Linked DNA regions of Homo sapiens: regions 1, 2, 3, 4, 5 and 7 are each linked to region 6. The links are contacts of gene promoters, found by promoter capture Hi-C in blood cells and fetal thymus (Javierre and others, 2016). All regions are on one chromosome and are shown on one strand. Each heading gives the region's core, a stretch centred on a gene start or on the middle of the fragment in contact. The rest is flanking DNA. Distances are from core to core; before and after follow the strand shown. Region 1 has its middle 79 kb from the start of RPS23. Region 2 has its middle 3.5 kb from the start of RPS23. Region 3 has its middle 9.5 kb from the start of ADGRV1. Region 4 holds the start of LUCAT1 (lung cancer associated transcript 1). Region 5 has its middle 19 kb from the start of RPS23. Region 6 holds the start of COX7C (cytochrome c oxidase subunit 7C). Region 7 overlaps ATG10 (autophagy related 10).

What was found. Contacts are between HindIII fragments. The CHiCAGO score rates a contact against its expected background, and 5 or more counts as called.
Region 1: a fragment that was not itself captured here is called in contact with the fragment with the promoter of COX7C in region 6 in 5 of 17 cell types (total CD4 T cells, naive CD8 T cells, total CD8 T cells and 2 more); the score reaches 11.2 in total CD4 T cells.
Region 2: a fragment that was not itself captured here is called in contact with the fragment with the promoter of COX7C in region 6 in 9 of 17 cell types (non-activated CD4 T cells, total CD4 T cells, activated CD4 T cells and 6 more); the score reaches 18.5 in non-activated CD4 T cells.
Region 3: a contact is called between a fragment that was not itself captured here and the fragment with the promoter of COX7C in region 6, in 1 of 17 cell types (total B cells). The highest score is 7.8, in total B cells.
Region 4: a contact is called between a fragment that was not itself captured here and the fragment with the promoter of COX7C in region 6, in 1 of 17 cell types (total CD4 T cells). The highest score is 7.1, in total CD4 T cells.
Region 5: a contact is called between a fragment that was not itself captured here and the fragment with the promoter of COX7C in region 6, in 1 of 17 cell types (non-activated CD4 T cells). The highest score is 5.3, in non-activated CD4 T cells.
Region 7: a contact is called between a fragment that was not itself captured here and the fragment with the promoter of COX7C in region 6, in 1 of 17 cell types (non-activated CD4 T cells). The highest score is 6.3, in non-activated CD4 T cells.

What each region holds. Positions count from the first base shown.
Region 1 is chr5:82,356,088-82,358,789 of GRCh38, forward strand. No RefSeq gene overlaps it. Among named protein-coding and RNA genes, the nearest start is that of RPS23, 79 kb to the left of the region's middle. RefSeq lists an enhancer at 500-1,699. The HindIII fragment of the contact is 1,956 bases long and covers 402-2,357 here.
Region 2 is chr5:82,280,402-82,283,318 of GRCh38, forward strand. It overlaps the pseudogene ATP6AP1L. Among named protein-coding and RNA genes, the nearest start is that of RPS23, 3.5 kb to the left of the region's middle. The HindIII fragment of the contact is 5,869 bases long and covers 1-2,917 here.
Region 3 is chr5:90,547,939-90,550,638 of GRCh38, forward strand. No RefSeq gene overlaps it. Among named protein-coding and RNA genes, the nearest start is that of ADGRV1, 9.5 kb to the right of the region's middle. The HindIII fragment of the contact is 1,940 bases long and covers 321-2,260 here.
Region 4 is chr5:91,312,648-91,315,477 of GRCh38, forward strand. LUCAT1 (lung cancer associated transcript 1) reads right to left here and starts at 1,755. Exons shown (of 5, transcript NR_103548.1): 1 at 1,433-1,755; 2 at 991-1,130; 3 at 431-582. RefSeq lists enhancers at 1,180-2,379, 1,267-2,054. The HindIII fragment of the contact is 2,842 bases long and covers 51-2,830 here.
Region 5 is chr5:82,296,284-82,299,306 of GRCh38, forward strand. It overlaps the pseudogene ATP6AP1L. Among named protein-coding and RNA genes, the nearest start is that of RPS23, 19 kb to the left of the region's middle. The HindIII fragment of the contact is 3,110 bases long and covers 219-3,023 here.
Region 6 is chr5:86,616,468-86,619,280 of GRCh38, forward strand. It overlaps COX7C (cytochrome c oxidase subunit 7C), which reads left to right and starts at 1,474. Exons shown (of 3, transcript NM_001867.3): 1 at 1,474-1,663. The coding sequence starts at 1,589. RefSeq lists enhancers at 1,142-1,221, 1,233-1,898, 1,285-1,579, 1,512-1,601, 1,899-2,564. The HindIII fragment of the contact is 5,230 bases long and covers 1-2,813 here.
Region 7 is chr5:81,973,645-81,976,662 of GRCh38, forward strand. The region is part of intron 1 of ATG10 (autophagy related 10); the gene reads left to right. Among named protein-coding and RNA genes, the nearest start is that of ATG10, 3.1 kb to the left of the region's middle. The HindIII fragment of the contact is 1,139 bases long and covers 1,133-2,271 here.

The sequences.
Region 1 (2,702 bases), core at 130-2,629, 4.3 Mb before region 6:
TCAACCCTAAACAGGCCTCGTGTGGCTGAGGCTCATGCATTCACAAATCCAGGTGGTGGCCTCCATTTGCAAAAAAATTTCTTTGTTTTGCCATTCTCTGGGCAGAAAGTACTGCCAATAATATATGAGTAATATCTGGGGCTCATTTCCATTTGGATGTGGAGACTTAGGTCTCTAAAACTTTCCAAAAAAAATGTCCGATTGGGCCAGTAGGGAAAGCCATGATGCAACCTTAGTGGACTCATTTATGCTTTGATTGCCATTTCCTGTAGATATCCATGTTTATACATTACGAGGCATAATGTGCTTCATCTTATTATGTGCTATTATTTTAATTTTTCCAATGATAAAATAATGCATGCTTTTTTGTAGAAAATTTGGAGAAATGTATCCTATATAGAAGCTTAAAGGAAGTATGTATAATCTCAGCAAGCAGTGTTATCTCATGCTGACTTAATTCTAAAAGAAATTTTGGTAATTTTTGTTAATTCTTTGTTAATTCTATGCAAATCATTCCATTGAAAATAATAATGACAGAAACATCAGAGTTTTAGGTTTGATCATCAAAACCTGTTTACTGTGAACCTAAAATACAACAGGGACCTGTTGGGATGCATCTAAATTCCAAAGGTCATGTGGATACGTCCTCAAATCTTTTGTTTCTGTTTTAAAATGACAGTGATGGTAAATATTTATGGTTGACTGTGTATCATTGCCCTACATTTTTTATGTGAACCAACTATTTTAATAATTACAAGAATCTTAAAGGAAAGTGCCATTGGTAGAGTCCCATTTTACAGATGGAAAAATTGAGATGAAAAAGATTAAGTAACTTGGCCAAGGTTACAGGCAACTATGCAGTAGAGGTGAGTCAGCCCGTCTTCCAGAAACCCTGAGCATCTTCCCTTCTAAACTTGAAAGTGTTTAGTTTCTTCAACTAAGGGCATAACCGGGTCAGTCAGGATGTATTTGACCACATGAAAGGGCAGCAAAACACATCTCTTTGCTTTGATTTCTGTAGAAACATGTCCCCTGTGTTAAGTGGTGACAAGCCTCGTGGGGGTTTTGCTCAGGCGACAGGCTGGAAATGCATGTGTGGCAGGCGGGCTTGTGAGATCACATCCGAAGCTGGCTGGACTCAGTTCAGTCCTTTGGAGTGTTGATTCAGATGACGGGGGGAAGAGGCGAACCCCTCTTCTTTGGCTTAGAAGATTACGGATCTGTAACTTCAAAAGCTGTTTGCAATTTTATATTCACGTCTCGCTGCCAAGGTGCTTGTCTTATCTGCAGTCTGTTGGCTGGGGCCCTTGTGAGTAAGCTGGGCGGTTTCCTCCTGCATTTGGAAGGAAGTTGCAGGGTCAAAAAGGGGGGTGGGTGGTGGAGAGGTGAGTGTGGCTGAGAGGATGACACCAGCGGAAACAAGGGAAATAGTCTGGGAGGAGGGCCAGACGAGCAGGGTGTGTCAGAGTGAACTCAGGGAGAGGAGAGGAAAGGCCCTTTCCTAGTCTGTGCTGATCTGGGAGGACACACCATCTAAACAGGAAGAGCACAGAACAGAGATTCATCAGACAGACCTGCTTGGGGTTCTTGCTTGCTGGTTTTAAGGCTTTGTGACCTTGGTCAATTTACTAAACCTCTTTGGCCCACCTTCCCCTTCTGTACTGTTTGCTGTATGGTCTGTTTTTTGCTAAGCTCAGGTGGTAATGTTGCCCTCAATACTCCATGCCCAGCTTGTTACAGAAGGAAGAATGCTGGTCTAGGAGACAGGAGATCTGGGTGGATTTTCTGTCCTTACTCTTCATCAGCGATCTGACCCTGGGCAAGATTAAGAACTAATGTGACCCCCAGTTTCTTAATCTGTCAAGTGGGTATAATAATACATACCCTTTTAACTTCACAAGGTTTCTGGGATGCTCAAAGAAGATCAGGTGTTTGAAAAGATTTTGTAAACCTAAAAGGATTATACGTTGAGCTGTTCTAGATGCTGGGTGAAATGTGCGACTGAACACACAGTACTGGTGGACTGCTGGGTTCTCACTCAGGGATGGCAGAAAGGTTTCAATTTGTGAGCCAGCCACTCTCATTGACTGGGAGTGGCTGCCTGGACCTCCTGAGCTTTGGCTGCGTTCTGAGGGAAAGAGTGCTCATGTTGATTATTAATGTCTGTCATGGACAAAGGGGTAGGAGAAGTGGTTCTTGGATTGTGCGTTTGCTCTTTCTGTTCCCGCCTAGTGATTTCTAAATTCGGTTGCTCATTTAGATTCTCCTGGTTAAAATGCCCCATCAGGCAGATTTCCCATTTCATAGGCCTGGATGTGACCTGGGGTGAAGGCAAGGAATCTTCATTTTTTAAATAAAGCTTTCCTTGCTGGTTATTTTGATAGTTGTGCAGGTGTGGAGAGGTGGAGCAGGCATCGAGTCACATGGGAGCTCCAGGTGAGTCTCATGGAGCTCTGAGCATTGGAAGAATGGAGCACAGAAGAGTTAAGCAACTTTTCTAGACATGGTCGTAAGTTTGAAAAATGTAGATCAGGCCTGTGGTTTCTAGTAGGTTGCCTAACTCTTTCTTCATTAAACAAATGGGTTGTATTGTCTGTTATGATGATTCTCCCACTGGCTTCAGGCCTGATTATTTTTCCTTGTGGTTCAGACAGCTGCTCCAAAAGAGTCAGATGCTGAGATCCATTGTCCACCCTGGCTCC
Region 2 (2,917 bases), core at 139-2,638, 4.3 Mb before region 6:
TCAAAGCCAAGTGAAGAAGGGAGTGAGAAAGTGTGAAAAGAGATAAGATGAGGACTGAGAATTGCCTTTTGGACTTGAAAATGTGGAGATTACTGGTCACTTTGTCAAATGGGGACTCCATGGAGTACTGAAAGTGAAAGGCGATGGGATCGGAGTGAAGAGAATATGGGAGGGAAGGAAGTCTAGACAGCAACTATAGACAATTTTTGAAAGACATTTTTTATGTGCAGAGAAATGGCACCCTATTTGGAGGGGAATGTGGAGTTGGAGGGTTTTATTTTTAAGATGGCAACTTTTATGACATTTTTGTATGCTGATCAGGTTGAGAAAATTAAAAATGGGTTATTCAGCAGAGAAGGGATAATTGCAGGAGCAACTCCTTAAGTAGACTAGAAGGGTACCCAAGTGGAGGAGTTAACTGTAGGAACAATAACAGTTTATGTATGGTAGTAGAGTGACAGGTACAGCTGCAAGTAAATTGGAAGATTTGATGATAGGAAGTTGTGGAACTTCTTCACTTTTGACTTACTTTTTCAATTTTTTCAATGAAATAAAAAGCAAGGCCATCAGTGAAGAGAAAGAGTGGGAGAAAAAGGTTTGAGGAGAGAAGGTAAGATGTGAAATCATCATCAATGATAACAATATAAGCATTAGATAGTATTTACTATGTGCCAGATTCTATTTTTGGCTTATATTTATTAACTCATTTTATTCTCATAAGGAATTTTACTGAGGGACAGATAACGATAATTTTACTGAGGGATAGATATACAAAAACTGAGGCTTTGGTGAGTTTAACTTCCCCAAGATCACGTATTTAGTAAGTGGTAGAAGTAAGATTTTAACCCAGGTAATCTGGTTTTAGAATCTTGTATTTGACCCCTCTTATACTGCCTCCTAATCTAGAATGGTAGGAAAATGCATTGACAAGAAAATAGGTTTTTTGAGCAGTTCTGAGAGCCCATTTGAAATCTGTGTTTATGAAGTGACATCAGTGAGTTATGTGTATTTCTTCAGATTCACAAATACTGCATGTTTACACTTATATGTGGAATCTAAAAATTTTGAACGGATAGAAGCAGTGAGTAGAATGGTGGGCGTGGGAGTTTGGGGGATCTGGGGAGCTGTTGGTCAAAGGATACAAAGGTTTAGTTTGACAGGAGGAGAAAATTTTCGAGAGACTTGTTGAATAACATGGTGACTCCAGTTGACCCACAAACAATATGGGTTTGAATTGTGTGGGTCCACATACAGGCAGATTTTCTTCTGCCTCTGACACCCCGAGAAAGCAAAAACTCCTCTTCCTCTTCCTCCTCCTCAGCCTACTCAATGTGATGACCTTTATGATGATCCATTTCCATTTAATGAGTAGTAAATAAATTTTCTCTTCTTTCTAATTTTGTTATTAACATTCATTTCTGTGGCTTAATTTATTGTAAGAATATGGTATGTAATACACGTAACATGAAATATGTGTTAATAGGCTGTTTATGTTATCAGTAAGAGTTCCAGTCAACAGTAGGCTATTAGTAGTTAAGTTTTCGGAAAGTCGGAAGTTATACACAGATTTTCTACTGTGTGGGGAGGTCAGCATCCCTAACCCCCATGTTGTTCAAGGGTCAACTGTATAAATAACAAAGTTTATATTGAAAATTGCTAAAAGAATAGATTTTAAGTGTTCTCACCACAGAAAAATGATACAAAAGTATTTGAGGTAATGCATATGTTAGTTAGCTCTATTTAACCATTGTACAATGTACATATATATTTAAAATATGTTGTAAACCATAAATATACACAGATTTTGTTAAAGAATAAATAATTTAAAAATAATATTTAAAAAAGATGGAGCCACACAAAAAGTGATTACTCAATGAAATTGTGTCACTGTCTTACACTGAAAGCATAAATCAACTCTGGATAAATTAAGGGCTTAAATATCAACAAGAAAACTTTGAAATTCTTAATAGAGAACAAAGGTGAATATCTTTTTGAACTTAGGAAAGGAAAATGTTTCTACACATGACAAGAATGATAAATTTGATCATATTAAAATTAAGACCCTCTATTCATCAAAAACATCTGAAAGAAAGTGAAAAGACAAGTTCCATACTGAGAATTGCTATTCATAGCCACAAAACTTACAAAGGATTAATATTTTAAAAAATTTCTGGCCGGGCGTGGTGGCTCACACCTGTAATCCCAGCACTTTGGGAGGCCGAGGCAGGGGGATCACGTGAGGTCAGGAATTCGAGACCAGCCTGGCCAACATGGTGAAACCCCCTCTCTACTGAAAATACAAAAATTAGCCGGGTGTGGTGGCGCATGCCTGTAATCCCAGTTACTCAGGAGGCTGAGGCAGGAAAATCGCTTGAACTGAGGAGGCAGAGGTTGCAGTGAGCCGAGATCGCTCCATTGCACTCCAGCCTGGGCAACAAAGTGAGACTCTGTCTCAAAAGAAACAAACAAAAAAATCCCTTCTACAGAATAATATAAAAGAACAAATAATACAGTGAGAAAACATGACAAAGGACAGGAATAGACCAGCCATGGTGGCTCACATCTGTAATCCTAGCACTTTCGGAGACTGAGGCAGGTGGATCACTTGAGGTCAGGAGTTCAAGACCAGCCTGGCCAACATAGTGAAACCCCATCTCTTTACTAAAAATACAAAGAAAAAAAGAATTAGCTGGGCATGGTCGCGTCTGCCTGTAGTCCCAGCTACTCGGGAGGCTGAGGCAGGAGAATCGCTTGAACCCGGGTGGCAGAGGTTGCAGTGAACCGAGATCACACTACTGCACTGTAGCCTGGGCAACAGAGCAAGACTCTGTCTCCAAAAAAAAAAAAAAAAAGAAAAAGACATGAATAGGCATATCATAAAGAAGGAAACGTGTATGACCCATAAATATTTGAAGAG
Region 3 (2,700 bases), core at 41-2,540, 3.9 Mb after region 6:
AAGATTTATACCGTCCCCTCATCTCCATCCCCCCCTCACATACCTCCCAGGAAATTAACTGTTTGAACTCATCGTTGGATAAGTTTACCACAGCCCACAGAATATTTCTGGAAAATTTAAATTCTTTTTTACTGTAGTCTCTGGAATGTAAATGCAAGCTTATTATAAGATAATTATGCAAGGAGTGGAAACCTTATATTCTATCCTCATAAATAAAGTGTAGACAGAAATAATAATCTTGGCTCAACTGGAACTCGAAGTTAGGAATGAAGGATTTGTTTGCCTTGTCTCCTCCCAAACCTCAAGTAATAAATCTCAAAAGCTTCAATATTGATTCAACAAAATGAATGGCTGAGTCATTTCAGAAGGACTCTGACAAGTGGACAAACGCTGCCATGGCGACATTTTGATATGCAGCGTGCTTACTGAGCCTGGCTGGCTTCCTCCCCCTGCCATTAAAGCAAAATGACAAACCATGGGAAGTGCCACACACAGCGTGCCTAAACCAGAGGCAACTGGGGGTGAAAAACAGATTTAATTAGCTGTTCTCAAAAAGTTAAAAACTGGATATACATTTATGTTTGATTTATGGAGGAATTCCTTTTAAAATGTGAGAAAAACTGCTCTGAGATGTGCTTCTTGCTAAGAAATAGAAACTATTATTGATTTTAAAGTCTCAGACAGCATTCTCTGTAAATGTTTTGTAAACATACTTTGTAGGATAAAATATTTTTAGCTTGGAAATACAGATTTAAAATATTTCCCATAGGACATAAATTCTACTCAATTCGTCTTTTACTGAATAATGTAATAAAGTATTACATGTGGCCAGTAAAAAAAAAATACAATATGTGTAATCACATACTATTACTGCTGCATATATTTAGATTTGTAAGGAAATAAATGTCGGAAAGTAATATGTATACTTGGATATTACTTGATCTTAATATTCATTTGATGGAGCTACTTAGGAATTACATATGTGTTCTTTTCTTTATTAGTATAAAGTATATCAAGATATATTAAAAGCAGGAGCAATTCACATCAATGAAAAGATGTTATTTTAAAACTTTTAGTGGGAAATTGCTATTATATATGCGATTATGTATTTGTTAACTTTATTTATGTATAATTAACACTGTAGTTTTTTCAATATTGAATTGGTTAACTGAGAAGAAAAACTGTCTCAATTGCAGCTAAAATACAACTAGAGTAGGCAATAACTGTTTTGTTTTATTTTGCTGTTTTTCTGTTTGTCAGTTATTAAAATCTCACTATGTAGCAGACTTCACTATCTCATTCAATCCACACACAAGCCTGAGCAATGAGTCCTAGGAGACTCTCTATTTTGCAGATAAGGAAACTAAAATGTGAAAGGTTAATAAATTAATCTAAGTTCACTCCACCTATCTACACTATATGATCTCTTGACATCATCTGGACCTAACCATATTAAATGTTTTTATTTTTGCTATTCTATGGCTTTAGAAATAGAAACCATACTAGTGACTGATATCACAAAGTCTCAGACATCATGTTCTATAAATAGACTTCTTGAAAAAAACATTTTTAACTTAGGAAGGTAAAGATTTAAAATATTTGCAGTAGAACATGAAGATAATACTTAATTTATCATTTGTATTTTACTTATTAATTTTAGAACATTTCATGAGAGTATAAAAATTTAGATAGCATTAGGAGATATACCTAATGTTAAATGAAGAGTTAATGGGTGCAGTGCACCAACATGGCACATGTATACATATGTAACAAACCTGCACATTGTGCACATGTACCCTAAAACTTAAAGTATAAAAATAAAAAAAAATTTAGAAAAGAGAAAGATAAACAAGTACAAAAAAAGTGAAGTATTAATTTCACATGAAGAAGCAAAGAGAAAAGCCTTTTTTGTTGGGTTTGTTTGTTATCACGCTTGTGGTTTCAGCTTCTAAAATGGCACCTCAACTTCTGTTGTCTGTGAGGATCTGGGTTGACTGCTGGCTTATCAAACATCTCAGTCTTAAAGAGGAACTACTTTTTGTATACTTCATCTATATAGGGAAGAAATCATTTACAGAGAAGATTTTGTCACATCACATTAAAGATTTCAAAATAGTCATAATAAATTATGATAAATTTGTCACCACTAGATAACCCACACATAGTCTAGATAAGATCCAAAGGCCTTGGCAAGACAGGAAAATGTGGAGACCAGACTCCTAGACGCACTTCAGATTCTTCCCTCTGGGTCACTCCATGAAGCTTTTTGAGAAGCAGCTTTCAGTGGGCCTACCTTGTCCAAATAGAACCAACCAAGGCTTGAGATGCTGCTCACACCTTAACTCCTTTCTGGGAAAGTGTGGTGTCATGTCTCCCTGGAGCTATTTTTGAGCTCTTGAAATCTTTCTGCTCTTCTGCTTTATACCTTCCAGAAGGACTTACTCCTCTCAATTTTCCAAAATCTTCCCCAGCTTTTCTTTTCTTTCTTTCTTTTTTTTTTAGTGGTGGTCAGGGAGTGGGGAGGAGATGGGATCTCGCTCTGTTGCCCAGGCTGGAGGGCAGTGGTGCTGTCATGACTCACTTCAACCTTTGCCTCCTGAGCTCAAGTGATCCTCCTATCTCAGCCACCCAAGCAGTTGGCACTATAGGCCAGCGCCACCACACTCTGCTAATTTTTTTTTTTTTTGAGATGGAGTCTCG
Region 4 (2,830 bases), core at 222-2,721, 4.7 Mb after region 6:
GGCTTCCTTCCATACCAATTTGTTCATATTGATAGCATGCTTCAGAACAAAGCTTCAGAGCTCAGGCTATACATCCTATAACACTCTTGGAAGACCAGTAACCAGACTGGAACCAGAAATCTTATTGCCATGTTAATATGTCATTTTCCTTCTGTGAAATATTCCAATAATGTAAAGAATGCAAGATTCAAAGTCACATAGACCCATGTACACGTTCAATCTACACCAAAGTTTGTGGAGCTGTGTGACCTTCAATAAGTCTCTTAACCTCTCTGAGCCATAATTTCCTCAGTCTGAAAAATGGGATGCTAACATAAGGCCAACATTACAGTGAGAACTAAATAAAACTTTTACATAGTGTCTAGGACAGCTCCTAGCTCATATTTAGTGTTTAAAATAAGCCTCTGATCTTTCTCTTTATTTACAATACCTTTTCATTGGGAGATGAGGACAGCATTTGGACACAACTGTACAGGCACGCTAAGTCTCATCCTTCCAAAGACGTCAGTCACATTCAGCCCCTTTAGCAGTTTCATCAACAGCATGTATAGCACATGTGATAGCAAACAGCAAGTTGGATTCCTTAATAAAGCAGTAAAGAAGGTCAGCCAGGATGTAGGCTTTAAAGCCAAGGCCAGCTCTTCTGGGCAGGACAGTTGTGGCTGATGTATGACAGCCAAATGTAATGAGAGTCCTCATTTGACATATTGAAGCGAGCACCTCAAGGATGGGCAGGGAAAAGAACCATCAGCAGTACTCACCACCAGAGCAGCAGTGAGTGCCCAGGTCAAACTGGACAAGGGCTGGCAGACAGGTGGAAATGTGAGTACATCGTTAGATTTGAAAAGGCCTTTGGCAGGGCACAGTGGCTCACGCCTGTAATCCCAGCATTTTGGAAGGCCAAGGCGGGTGAATCATGAGGTCAGGAGAACGAGACCATCCTGGCTAACACGGTGAAACCCCGTCTCTACTAAAAATGCAAAAAATTACCTGGGTGTGGTGGCGGGCGCCTGTAGTCCCAGCTACTCAGGAGGCTGAGGCAGGAGAATGGCGTGAACCCGGGAGGTGGAGCTTGCAGTGAACCGAGATCGCGCGCCACTGCACTCCAGCCTGGGCGACAGAGCGAAACTCTGTCTCAAAAAAAAAAAAAGAAAAGAAAAGCCCTTTTAAAATGTCCATCCTCCCATAACCCTTTGAAGCCTCCCACGTCCCCCCAGTTCCTCCCAAATGGCATATAAAAAGGGTGATGGCTTTTAGACAAAGGCAGTAGTACTCCCCAAACAGTTAAGGTCCAGAACATCATCTTGTATATACCTGTCTTAGAGCTATCACGTTGTGTACTGGAGTTTCCTGATTACATGACAGACTCCTCTGCTAGACAAACTCCTGAAGACAAGGAGGGGTTCTTATTCATCCTTTAGCCAAACCTTACCTGTAGCTCAGCATGTAGCCCATGGTAGATGCTGAACCAATTTTGTTAACGTGAGAGAAATACAAGAAAGCCAAGTCAGAAATACCATTGTTGCTGTTAGAAAACTTCAAAGAGGAATTTGTGGTCTCTGGTGCCAAGGTCCCATAAGAGTTCCAGCTGGGTGAGCTTCTTGTGAGGAAAGGAGCCAGAAGTCAGAACACATAGTGTGACAATATGAGAGAAAAGAGGATGAAAGCTGTTCTTAAATTGCACCTGTCTAAGGCAATCCGAGCTTGACACATGGTTTCTGGAGGTCTGGGCATTGTCTGAGTGGAGTGTTGATTGTATGTCTCCTGGAGCCTTCTGTTTAAATAACTGCCAGAGCAGGATGACTCAGCAGCCGGAGGATGAGATGCTCTTGATCTGCCGTCCTCTTTAAGTGACAAATCACATTGCCCTGGGTGTCTGTGGCAATCTCTGATATGACACACTCCTTCCTGCCAGCCCATCAACCAGGGTGGCAAGTCACAGTTACTAATCTGGAGACGGCTGAAAATTGCTGACAGGCAAGATCCCATGCTCCAAGTGTAGAGAATCATCTTTAAAATGAACTCTTGTCAATCTTGTCAATAGATTTTCTTTTTTTTTTTTCTTTTTTGAGATGGAGTCTCACTCTGTAGCCAGGCTGGAGTACAGTGGTGTGATCTTGGCTCACCGCAACCTCCACCTCCCGGGTTCAAGTGATGCTCCTGCCTCAGCCTCCCCTGGTAGCTGGGACTACAGGCGCATGCCACCACACCCAGCTAATTTTTGCATTTTTAGTAGAGACGGGGTTTCACCATGTTGCCCAGGCTGCTCCGGAACTCCTGACCTTAGGTGATCCGCCCACCTCAGCCTCCCAAAGTGCTGGGATTACAGGCGTGAGCTACCACGCCCAGCCTAGATTTTGTTACTGAGACTGAGTCTCACTCTGTTGCCCAGGCTGGAGTGCAATGGTGTGATCTTGGCTCAGTGCAACCTCTGCCTCCTGGGTTCAAGCAATTCTCTTGCTTCAGCTTCCTGAGTACCGGGGATTACAGACGCCTGCCACCACACCTGGCTATTTGTATTTTTAGTAGAAACGAAGTTTCGCCATGTTGGCCAGGCTGATCTCAAACTGCTGACCTCAAGTGATCCGCTCGCCTCGGCCTTCCAAAGTGCTGGGATTCTAGGCATGAGCCACGGCACTCAGCCTTGTTTCTGAAATGTAGAGACTGATTTTACATTTCTAGTCTGTCTCCATATCAAAGACTCCCTATTGTCTTCAGGATAAAGTCGAAATTCAATATCCTGACCATTAGGGTCCTATAGGAACTTATCTATACCTACCTTCCTAGCATAATAGAATCTTAACTTGTTTTGCTTTTTTTTCTACTTGAT
Region 5 (3,023 bases), core at 524-3,023, 4.3 Mb before region 6:
TCTTCCATTGTTTCTGAGTCAATTGGTGCTTTCCTGCAGGTTCACTTTTGAATAGTGACTTCTATTCTTTAGTGGTTAAAGCCTAGTTCTGTTTCCCCACCTGGGTTACACAGAAATGCCTGATTTGTGTATTACACTAGTAAAATGTACACCAAGAATTAGAAAAATCCTAGTTCTGTTTTTAAGACAAAGTTAATGGGCTTAATTTTAGCTTCAGAAGCTTTAGATCTTAGAAATCACATAAGTCAATGATCATTTGAATCTAATATTATGGCTCATTAATTCATTATGAAGGAAACAACAGTTGTTGTTTTGTGTGTTCTTTCAAATAATGGATCTGAAATTTAAAATATCTTTCAACTCCCTGGGGCTATTCAATATTCTGTCTGTAGGAAGGAGGATTGTAGTTTAAGCTCGATACACGGTTTCTAAACATAGAGTGAGTAGGGGTCATTATTCTCACTTTGCACATTTCTTCCTCAAGTTGGGTTTATTCTTGATCCAAAAAGAAATCCTGTGTGACCTCCCATTTTCCACTTTGATTTCAGAGTATTTTCATCAATTTCTTAGTTCATTTGTGCATGCAACACATTTTAAAAATAATTGGTGCTTTTAAGTAGCAAGGCCCCATGCTAGATGCTGGGTCTACAATGGTGAGCACAACAGGGATAGTCCCTGGCCTCACGGACTAAGTCTAATAGGGAAGCCCTTGTTAATCAAATGATATATATTATTCCAAATAAACTTTGAAATGTGTTGTGAAAGAAAAGTATAGGAAGCAATGAGCACATACAACAGGGGGATTGGAACTTGCACAAGTTAGGGATTGTGTTCCTGAGGAAGTGACACTTACGCCATCATCTGGAGGAGATGTAGAAAATAACTAGGAGGATGGAGAACATTCCAGGTGGAGGGACCAGCAGGTGCTAAGGGAAAAATGGACCATGAAGTGTTCAAGGAACTGAATAATGCTAGAGTAGCGGAAGCAGAGAGAGAAGGGAAGAGGTGAAATAAGGCAAGCACAGCTGGCAGGCCGAAGTCTGCCTGGGTAATGTCTGGGTATTCGTGCCTCTTTCATATATTGTATTCAGTTACGTTTTAACCTGTACTACAAAGTCTGGAGTTTAGGTAGGTTAGATGATTTGGCTAAAGCATATCTCTATTATAATTTCATTATTACTTGGATGGGAACCTCACTTTTGTTGCTCAGGAAATTAAACTTGTACTCACAAGAGACTTAATATAAACCGTAATGCTAATTTATAAATTTCTAAAGGAAGACATCTTTTTAAAAAATTAAAATAGAAAAATTTATCAAAGTAATACATGTACATGGTTTCAAAAAATCAAAAGGTGACAAGACACATTAAAGGAAAAATTGTCTTCTAGTTACTTCTATAGGCAAACATTTTCAAATTTTTAGTTGTTTCTTCTGTTGGCCACTGCTTGTATTAGTCACCTTTTTTCTAGAAACAAAACAACCCCTACATTGCAGAAGTTTGCAGCCTCAAACATTTCTTTCTTGCTCCTCTTACTTCTGACAGCTACAGGCGGGCTGCTGTGACCCTGCTTTAGCTCTGTTTCCACTTCTCATTCCAAGTCCCAGACTGAAAGAGCAGCCCCTATTTGGGCATGCCATTCTTATGACAGAGGGAGTGGGGCAAGAGATGGCAGGCACATGCAGACACTCGCAACTTCTGCAGAACTGCCACACTGTTGCTTCTGCCCATATTCCATTGGTCTAATTAAGATGTATAGCTGAAACTGGAGAGTTCCGTGACCCCCCTTGCAGGACATGCAACAGGGGTGTGGTGCATCTGTTTGGCCACTGCCACATGTGCTCAAACCTTTTACAAGAAGGGGAGCATGCAGATGGGCAGGTGCAGGAACCAGGGCAAGTGATTTTGGGTTCTGGCCTCATGGTAGCATCTAGGCTTGGGTTCCTGTGACTCTCAAAGCCCCAGTGGGTGTGCTACAGTGCTCTTTTAGCTCTGCCATCTTCAGACAGCTTAAGTGTTAACCAGCTTAGTGCCCTCTTGGACCCCGGGTTTTTGTTTGGCATCCAGGAAGAATCAGGTCACACAGGGCTGGAAGGATGGTGAATGTGGGGGTTATACTGAGTGGTGGAGGTGGCTTTCAGCAGGCTGGATGGGGAGCTGGAAGGGTGATGGATTGGGGGATGATCTTCCCCTGGAGTTTGGCTGTTCAGCAGCTGATCTCCTCTCTGACTGTCCCCAGCCAAACTCCTCTAGATGTTCAGATGCTGCTTCTCGTCTCTCTTCTCTGTCATGCTGTTCTGCTGCTCTTCTGTTCACCTGTTCATCTGCTCATCTGCTTGTGGAGCCTGGGGTTTGGGGTTTATATGGGTACTGGATAGGGGGCCCTGGTGGGCCAAAAGGCAACATTGGGGTGCAGAAACAGGAATGCCTGTTCCCATTTAGGGCCGTGGGTTTCCAGGCTTAAGGGTGGGGCCTTTGCCAGGAACTGCCCCCTTCTATCCAGTATTTCCTCGTCTGCTGTTCATATAATAGCTAAGCCTGATGATGGGGCAGGAAGTATTTTCCACCCACAGGGAGGAACTGCAAGTCATATGCCCTAGGGGGATGCAAAATCCTCTCCCAGAGAAGGAAACAAAGACTGGGTAACAATCATACAATTCACCATACTGCCATAATATCAAAATAATATGCATAGGTGATTTCTCCATTTATACATGTTAGATTTTATAACAAGTTCCTTTATTATTGACAAAGTTCCTGTCTTCAATGTCCTCATCTTTCTTTCCTCCACCCCCCATCCCTCCAATATAGTTACATTACTACTTTCAGTTCATCAGTGCTTGCGTCAATATGACTATGTATATTGTTCACAGACAAGCTAGTTAGTAGAGTGTAATTTTGTTTCTTTCTTTCTTTTTTTTTTTTTTTTTTTTTTTGTGCAACGTTTCTTTTTCCCTTGAGTTAAAAATGGCCTTTTTGTAGTTGCAATTTCAAAACATGCATAGTCTTAATTCTTTTCACATA
Region 6 (2,813 bases), core at 224-2,723:
CTAGATTGAAAAGTGTAATCTAGAAATATTAAGTGTGAAAAAGTTTCTCAATTATAGTTAAATCAGAATTCTTTAATATGTAAAGGCAGTGAACGGAATGTTAAAAAAAAATGGAATGTCACATAACTTCTATAAATTAGGTGGTAGAGGACACCAGTTATGATGCATTTCATGAACCCCTACTCAAAAAGAAGCTACTTGTTGAAACAAAATATGAATTTAAGTGTTTTTTTTAAGTGTTTTTTTGGGGGGGAGGGGCATGGTTGTTCTCTTCCAAAAACTGAAAAAAAAAAAAAAAAAAAAGACGAAAAGAGCATATATGTTATGCCCTTTTCAAAGCAAACCTTAGGTCTTATTGGAATTGTTTCCTAATGCTATATAAATGAGACACGTGAGGCAATATACACTCCCCCACAGATGAATAACATAACATTTAGGTTACCAGGGCCTTTCACAATCTAACCTAACACCACTTTCCCAGGTTCATTTATCACTGGTTTCTTCTCAATACCTTCTGGTCAAAGACCACCAGAAGCACACATGTAATTGACAAACGGGGTTTATTATTCATTGCAGTAAGGGTTCTCTGTAAAATATTAGAAAATGCTTATTGGATTTGGGATTTTTTTCTCCTAATATTGGCTACCTTACCAAATCTTAGGAGGAAGAAAGGCTAGATCAAGGCTAAGATTGTAATTGGTAAAGAAGCAGAAGTCATCAAATTAAACCAGATAGGGTGATGTCCGGTCATTTTCGTGGCTTGGACAATGTTTTATCTGTGTTCAGATGTGATTACACAGTGATCATATTCTTTTCTTAATGAACACTGTCAGAGTGGTCTTGTTGGATGCTAATGCTTGCTGAAATTGTGTACGTTCATCAGGCGGACACCAGTTCCTAGTCCAGGCTAGCTCCAGGTGTCAGAGGCCACTTTTCCCTTCTACTCCTCACACATGCTGTACTCATACCAGACTTGAGTTTTCCCTGCCCTTTGTTCTTCCTTCTTTTTTATTCGATTCCCATTATCTTTAGTGATCATTCCCTTAGCATTTCAGTTTTCTCTCTGAAGTCCTTTGTGCTGCACGTTGTTTGATTACTTGTGTTTATGCTTTGTTTCTTCAGCTAGGATCATTAGCACATATCTCTCAGCATTGGCAAAAGTCCTCGAAATCATTGACACCTAGCATATACTTTATTTTTAAAAAAGAAAGAAAGAAGAGAAAAGGGATGGGTTTATTGTCCTTTTCAACAGACTAGAGTATACGGGGTGAAACTGCTTCACTTGATTCAATAAAATCGTTTCCGGTAACAGGCCCCAGGAATCCTAGACCTAAGCCTGGCGCGAAACTACATTTCCCACAATCCTTCGGGGGCTGATAAGGCTCCGCAATGGTCTGAACTACAATTCCCACAATCCAGGGCGATTTCCGCTTTGTCGCGTTTCCTCAAGGCTCCGCCCCATTTCCCATCTTTCTTTTCAGTCCTTGCGCACCGGGGAACAAGGTCGTGAAAAAAAAGGTCTTGGTGAGGTGCCGCCATTTCATCTGTCCTCATTCTCTGCGCCTTTCGCAGAGCTTCCAGCAGCGGTATGTTGGGCCAGAGCATCCGGAGGTTCACAACCTCTGTGGTCCGTAGGAGCCACTATGAGGAGGGCCCTGGGAAGGTTAGTGTGTAAGGGGCACGGCTTCGTTGGGGGAGGGGGCGCTTGGCTGTGACTCGCGCACCTGCAAGGCCGCCTCCGGGCTGTGGCGTGGGAGATGATAGCCAGAAACCAGGCTGAGACGCAGACTAGCATTCCACTTAGCCCAAGGACCAGTGAGGAAGCTGGGCATCCTAGCGCGTAGCCGCTAAAGGAATGGGCAGGTAGATCCGGAAGCCCTGCCTCCATCAGCCACCTGACGCCCCCTCCCCCGCCCCGCAGAAAGCCCTGAGATGGCTCCGGGAGGCCACGGCTGTAGGTGTGTTGGTTAAATCCGAGCTGGAGGTCATCGGACCCGAAATGAAGGTCATTGGAAAATCATGAGGAAATCAGGGCCTCTGGTTATGGAACAGGCTTTTTAAACTAGCTGCCTAAGTTAGAAGTACTAACCCTTCACCTCAGTTAAGGCTGGGTTTGGCCTCAGGTGTAAATAACTTAAACCACATAGCAGTAACAATCTCGGAGGGTCACACGAGGCCTAGTCATAAAGGCCAGAGAAGGTGCTTGGTAATGAAAAACAAACAAACAAAAAAAACTGTGGGCCAGGTGCGGTGGCGCACGCCTGTAATCGGGAGGCTAAGGCGTTCGGATCACCTGAGGTCAGGAGTTCCAGACCAGCCTGGCCAACATGGCGAAACCCTGTCTCTACTAAAAAGTACAAAAAAATTAGCCGGACGTGGTGGTGTGTGCCTCTAATCCCAGCTACTCGGGAGGCTGAGGCAGGAGAATCGCTTGAACCCGGGAGGTGGAGGTTGCAGTGAGCCGAGATCGGGCCACTGCACTCCAGCCTGGACAGAGCGGGACTCCGTCTCAAAAAAAAAAAAAAAGAAAAAAAAAGAGCTGTATTGCACTTAACATTGCCATGTATCTTCTAAGGTGACTACTTAGGACAGTAGTTTTTTCGATTTTCTAAAGTAAGAAACTTCTCACTATTTGACGTTTGAGTCCTCAAGACCATTCATTGCCTAGTGCTTAGTAAAGCCAGATTATTTCTTGCCATGTAGTGTTTTGTGATGAAGGTCATAGGATTTGAAAGATAAATGTTTAAAACGATGTTATGATTTATGGCATATGTTAACCTGATGATGTAAAATATAACTAGCATTTCCTGTAT
Region 7 (3,018 bases), core at 452-2,951, 4.6 Mb before region 6:
TCTCAGGATGGAAGGACATAGGCCCTGTGTGGTACTCAAATACATCTTAGGACTCCAAGTAGAATCCTTTCTCATTGCTTCAGAAAGGTTAAACAGTGACCAGAGGAAATGTTACAGAACTTTGACCAAAAAATAAATCCTGAGTATTGAGAAATTAAAATTAAAGTCTTGCAAATTGCAGAGTTTAAAAATTGTTATTGATATTTTAAATTGAAGAAATTAGTGGAAATAGTAGTTCTAAATTGCATACATTTGAATGTGGAGTGTTAAAAGATTATTTCCCTTGTCTCCTGTTTTATTTAGGATAAGGTTAACTGAGATTTTGGTACATGGTGGGCCATTCAAGTTATGTATAATGTTTTGTGACAAACTACATGTCGACAGTAGTTCCTGATGCCTAATACATTTCTGAGAAAGGTAAAGCAGCCCTTTAGGAAAAACAAGGAGAGTAAAGCTTACAGAAGATTTCTTAAGATGGGCTTGATTTGATTATCTTTGAAACCTAGAGATGTGTTTGGGACCCAGGAGGTTGTGTTTGAATCATAAATATAATCAGGGAACCTTAAGAAAAAAAAAGCCATGGAGATCATTTGGTGATTATCTATTGAAAACAAATGTTTTCAGGGGACAAGCAGCCTGAGTATAATAAAGCAATTAGAAAGTTGGGGAATGGAGAATAGGAGAATAAGCTGTACCTGAAGGAATCTTAATTAGGGAATGGTTGCTGAAAACTGCAGAGACAAGACTTCTCTAATGTGCTTACCTGATCACATAGTTTTATAGGATCCAGGAAGAGGGCTTAGTAATAGGAGTGTAGCTTTGAAGCTAGGGTTATTTCATATCACTGTCATGTAACATCTTTCTGAGAAAACCTTTTTATCATCTCTTCTGAGCTCAAGAACCTACACTGGTTTCCTATTGCCAATTGTTTTAAATGGAATCTCCTTTGGGTTTTTTGGTTTCTTCTTTTGGTTTTTTAAGAAGTGGGGTCTCTAAGTTGCCCAGGCTGGAGTGCAGTGGCTATTTAGAGGCACAATTAGAAGGCACTACACAGCCGTGACTCCTGGCTCAAGCAGCCCTCCTGCCTCAGCCTCCTGAGTAGTGAGGACTAAAGGCGAGAGCTATGTCTCCAAGCTTCCTTTGAGTTTTAAGACTGTAAACTTCCTGCACCCTGTCCCCAGATTCTCAATATCCCTCAATCTATACTCTCCATTCAGGTTCTTTACTGGTCTACCTCATTTCAATCTGTTCCAAGGTTCACTGCCACTGCCCCATCCCTTCTATTTCTTTCTTTCTATATCCTCCTATAATTCAAGGATTAACTGAAATCTAACTACTGTAGGGCCCAGGCTCTGGTTCCAGACTTCCTTAGGTCAAATTACTACACTTAACAGCTGTGTTACCTTGGACAAGTTACCCTCTCTGTCTCAATTTCCTTATCTATAAAATAAAGAAAATCCTAGTAATTTACCTCAAAAAGTTGCTCTGAGGATTTGTTACTAGTTCTTAATACATAGTAATATATGCAATTTTAATTATTTTAATCCATACTAATTCTTTAAACAGTGGTTGTACAATTTATCACTGTTTTTTGTTATCCATTATTCTCTGATGTTCTTTTCAATGTGAATCTTTACTTAAAAATTTGATTACTTTGAGAAGAATGTGTATTCTGAAAAATAAAAAAATATTTGGTTACAAACTATTGAAGGCAAAGACTGTATTATACTTCTTTTTGAAAGTCTCTTAAACCAAGGCTGGGTACAGTGGTTCATGCCTGTGATTCAGCACTTTGGGAGGCTGAGGCAGGCAAATTGCCTGAGCTGAGGAGTTTGAGACCAGCCTTGGCAACATTGCAAAACCCTGTCTCTACAAAAAATACAAAAAATTAGCTGTGCATGGTGGTGCACACATGTGGTCCCAGCTACTCAAGAGGCTGAGGCGGGAGGATTGCTTGAGCCTGGCAGGTGGAGGTTGCAGTCAGCTGAGATGGTATCACTGCCCTCCAACCTGGGTGACATAGTGAGACCCCCCTCTCAAAAAAAAAAAGTGTCTCAGACCTCTCAGGATGATTTGGGGGCTCAGTGTAATATTTTTTTCTTCCCATCTTACTATCTAGTTTTCTTTTTCTTTTTTGTTTTTTATTGTACTTTTGTAGCTTAGAGTTTTAAATTTAAACTCAATTTTGTTCCAAAAGTATTTGAGGTAGCTTAAACTATATAATATATAATAACATACAAAATAAAGAGAATCAAGATCATAAAAATATGAAGCTTGAATAGAAAGATGTGATTAGGGTGAGTTATACTGAAAATATACTGTGAATGTTGTAGAGTTATTTATTTATTTATTTATTTTATCTTTTTTTTTTTTTGAGATGGAGTCTCACTCTGTCGCCCAGGCTGGAGTGCAGTGGCGTGATCTCGGCTCACTGCAGGCTCCGGCCCCCGAGTTCACGCCATTCTCCTGCCTCAGCCTCCCGAGTAGCTGGGAGTACAGGCGCCCGCCACCTTGCCCGGCTAATTTTTTTTTTTTTTTGTATTTTTAGTAGAGACGGGGTTTCACCGTGTTAGCCAAGATGGTCTCGATCTCCTGACCTCGTGATCCGCCCGCCTCGGCCTCCCAAAGTGCTGGGATTACAGGCGTGAGCCACTGCGCCCGGCCTGTTGTACAGTTATTAAAGGTAGGCCACAAAGTTCCAAGCTTCATGGTGGTCAAAGGAAAGAAGGAAACATATTTATTGCCCAGCAAAAACAGCTTCCTGTGTTAAAATAATTAATTGGGAGGCCATTGCCTGAGGAAGCTCCAGTGCCCTGGGTTCCTACATAAACAGACTTACACCAAACTCAGTGTAAATGGTTGTATTCTAGGAAAATGAAACTTTAGCTTAACCAATCAGAAACCATCAACTAACCTCTAACCACTGACTTTTACTGGAATGATCCAAGTAAGGCTACTCCACTTTGACCAATCACAGATTTTCTTGGCCTTGCTTCTGCCGTTCACTCTTCAAAAGCC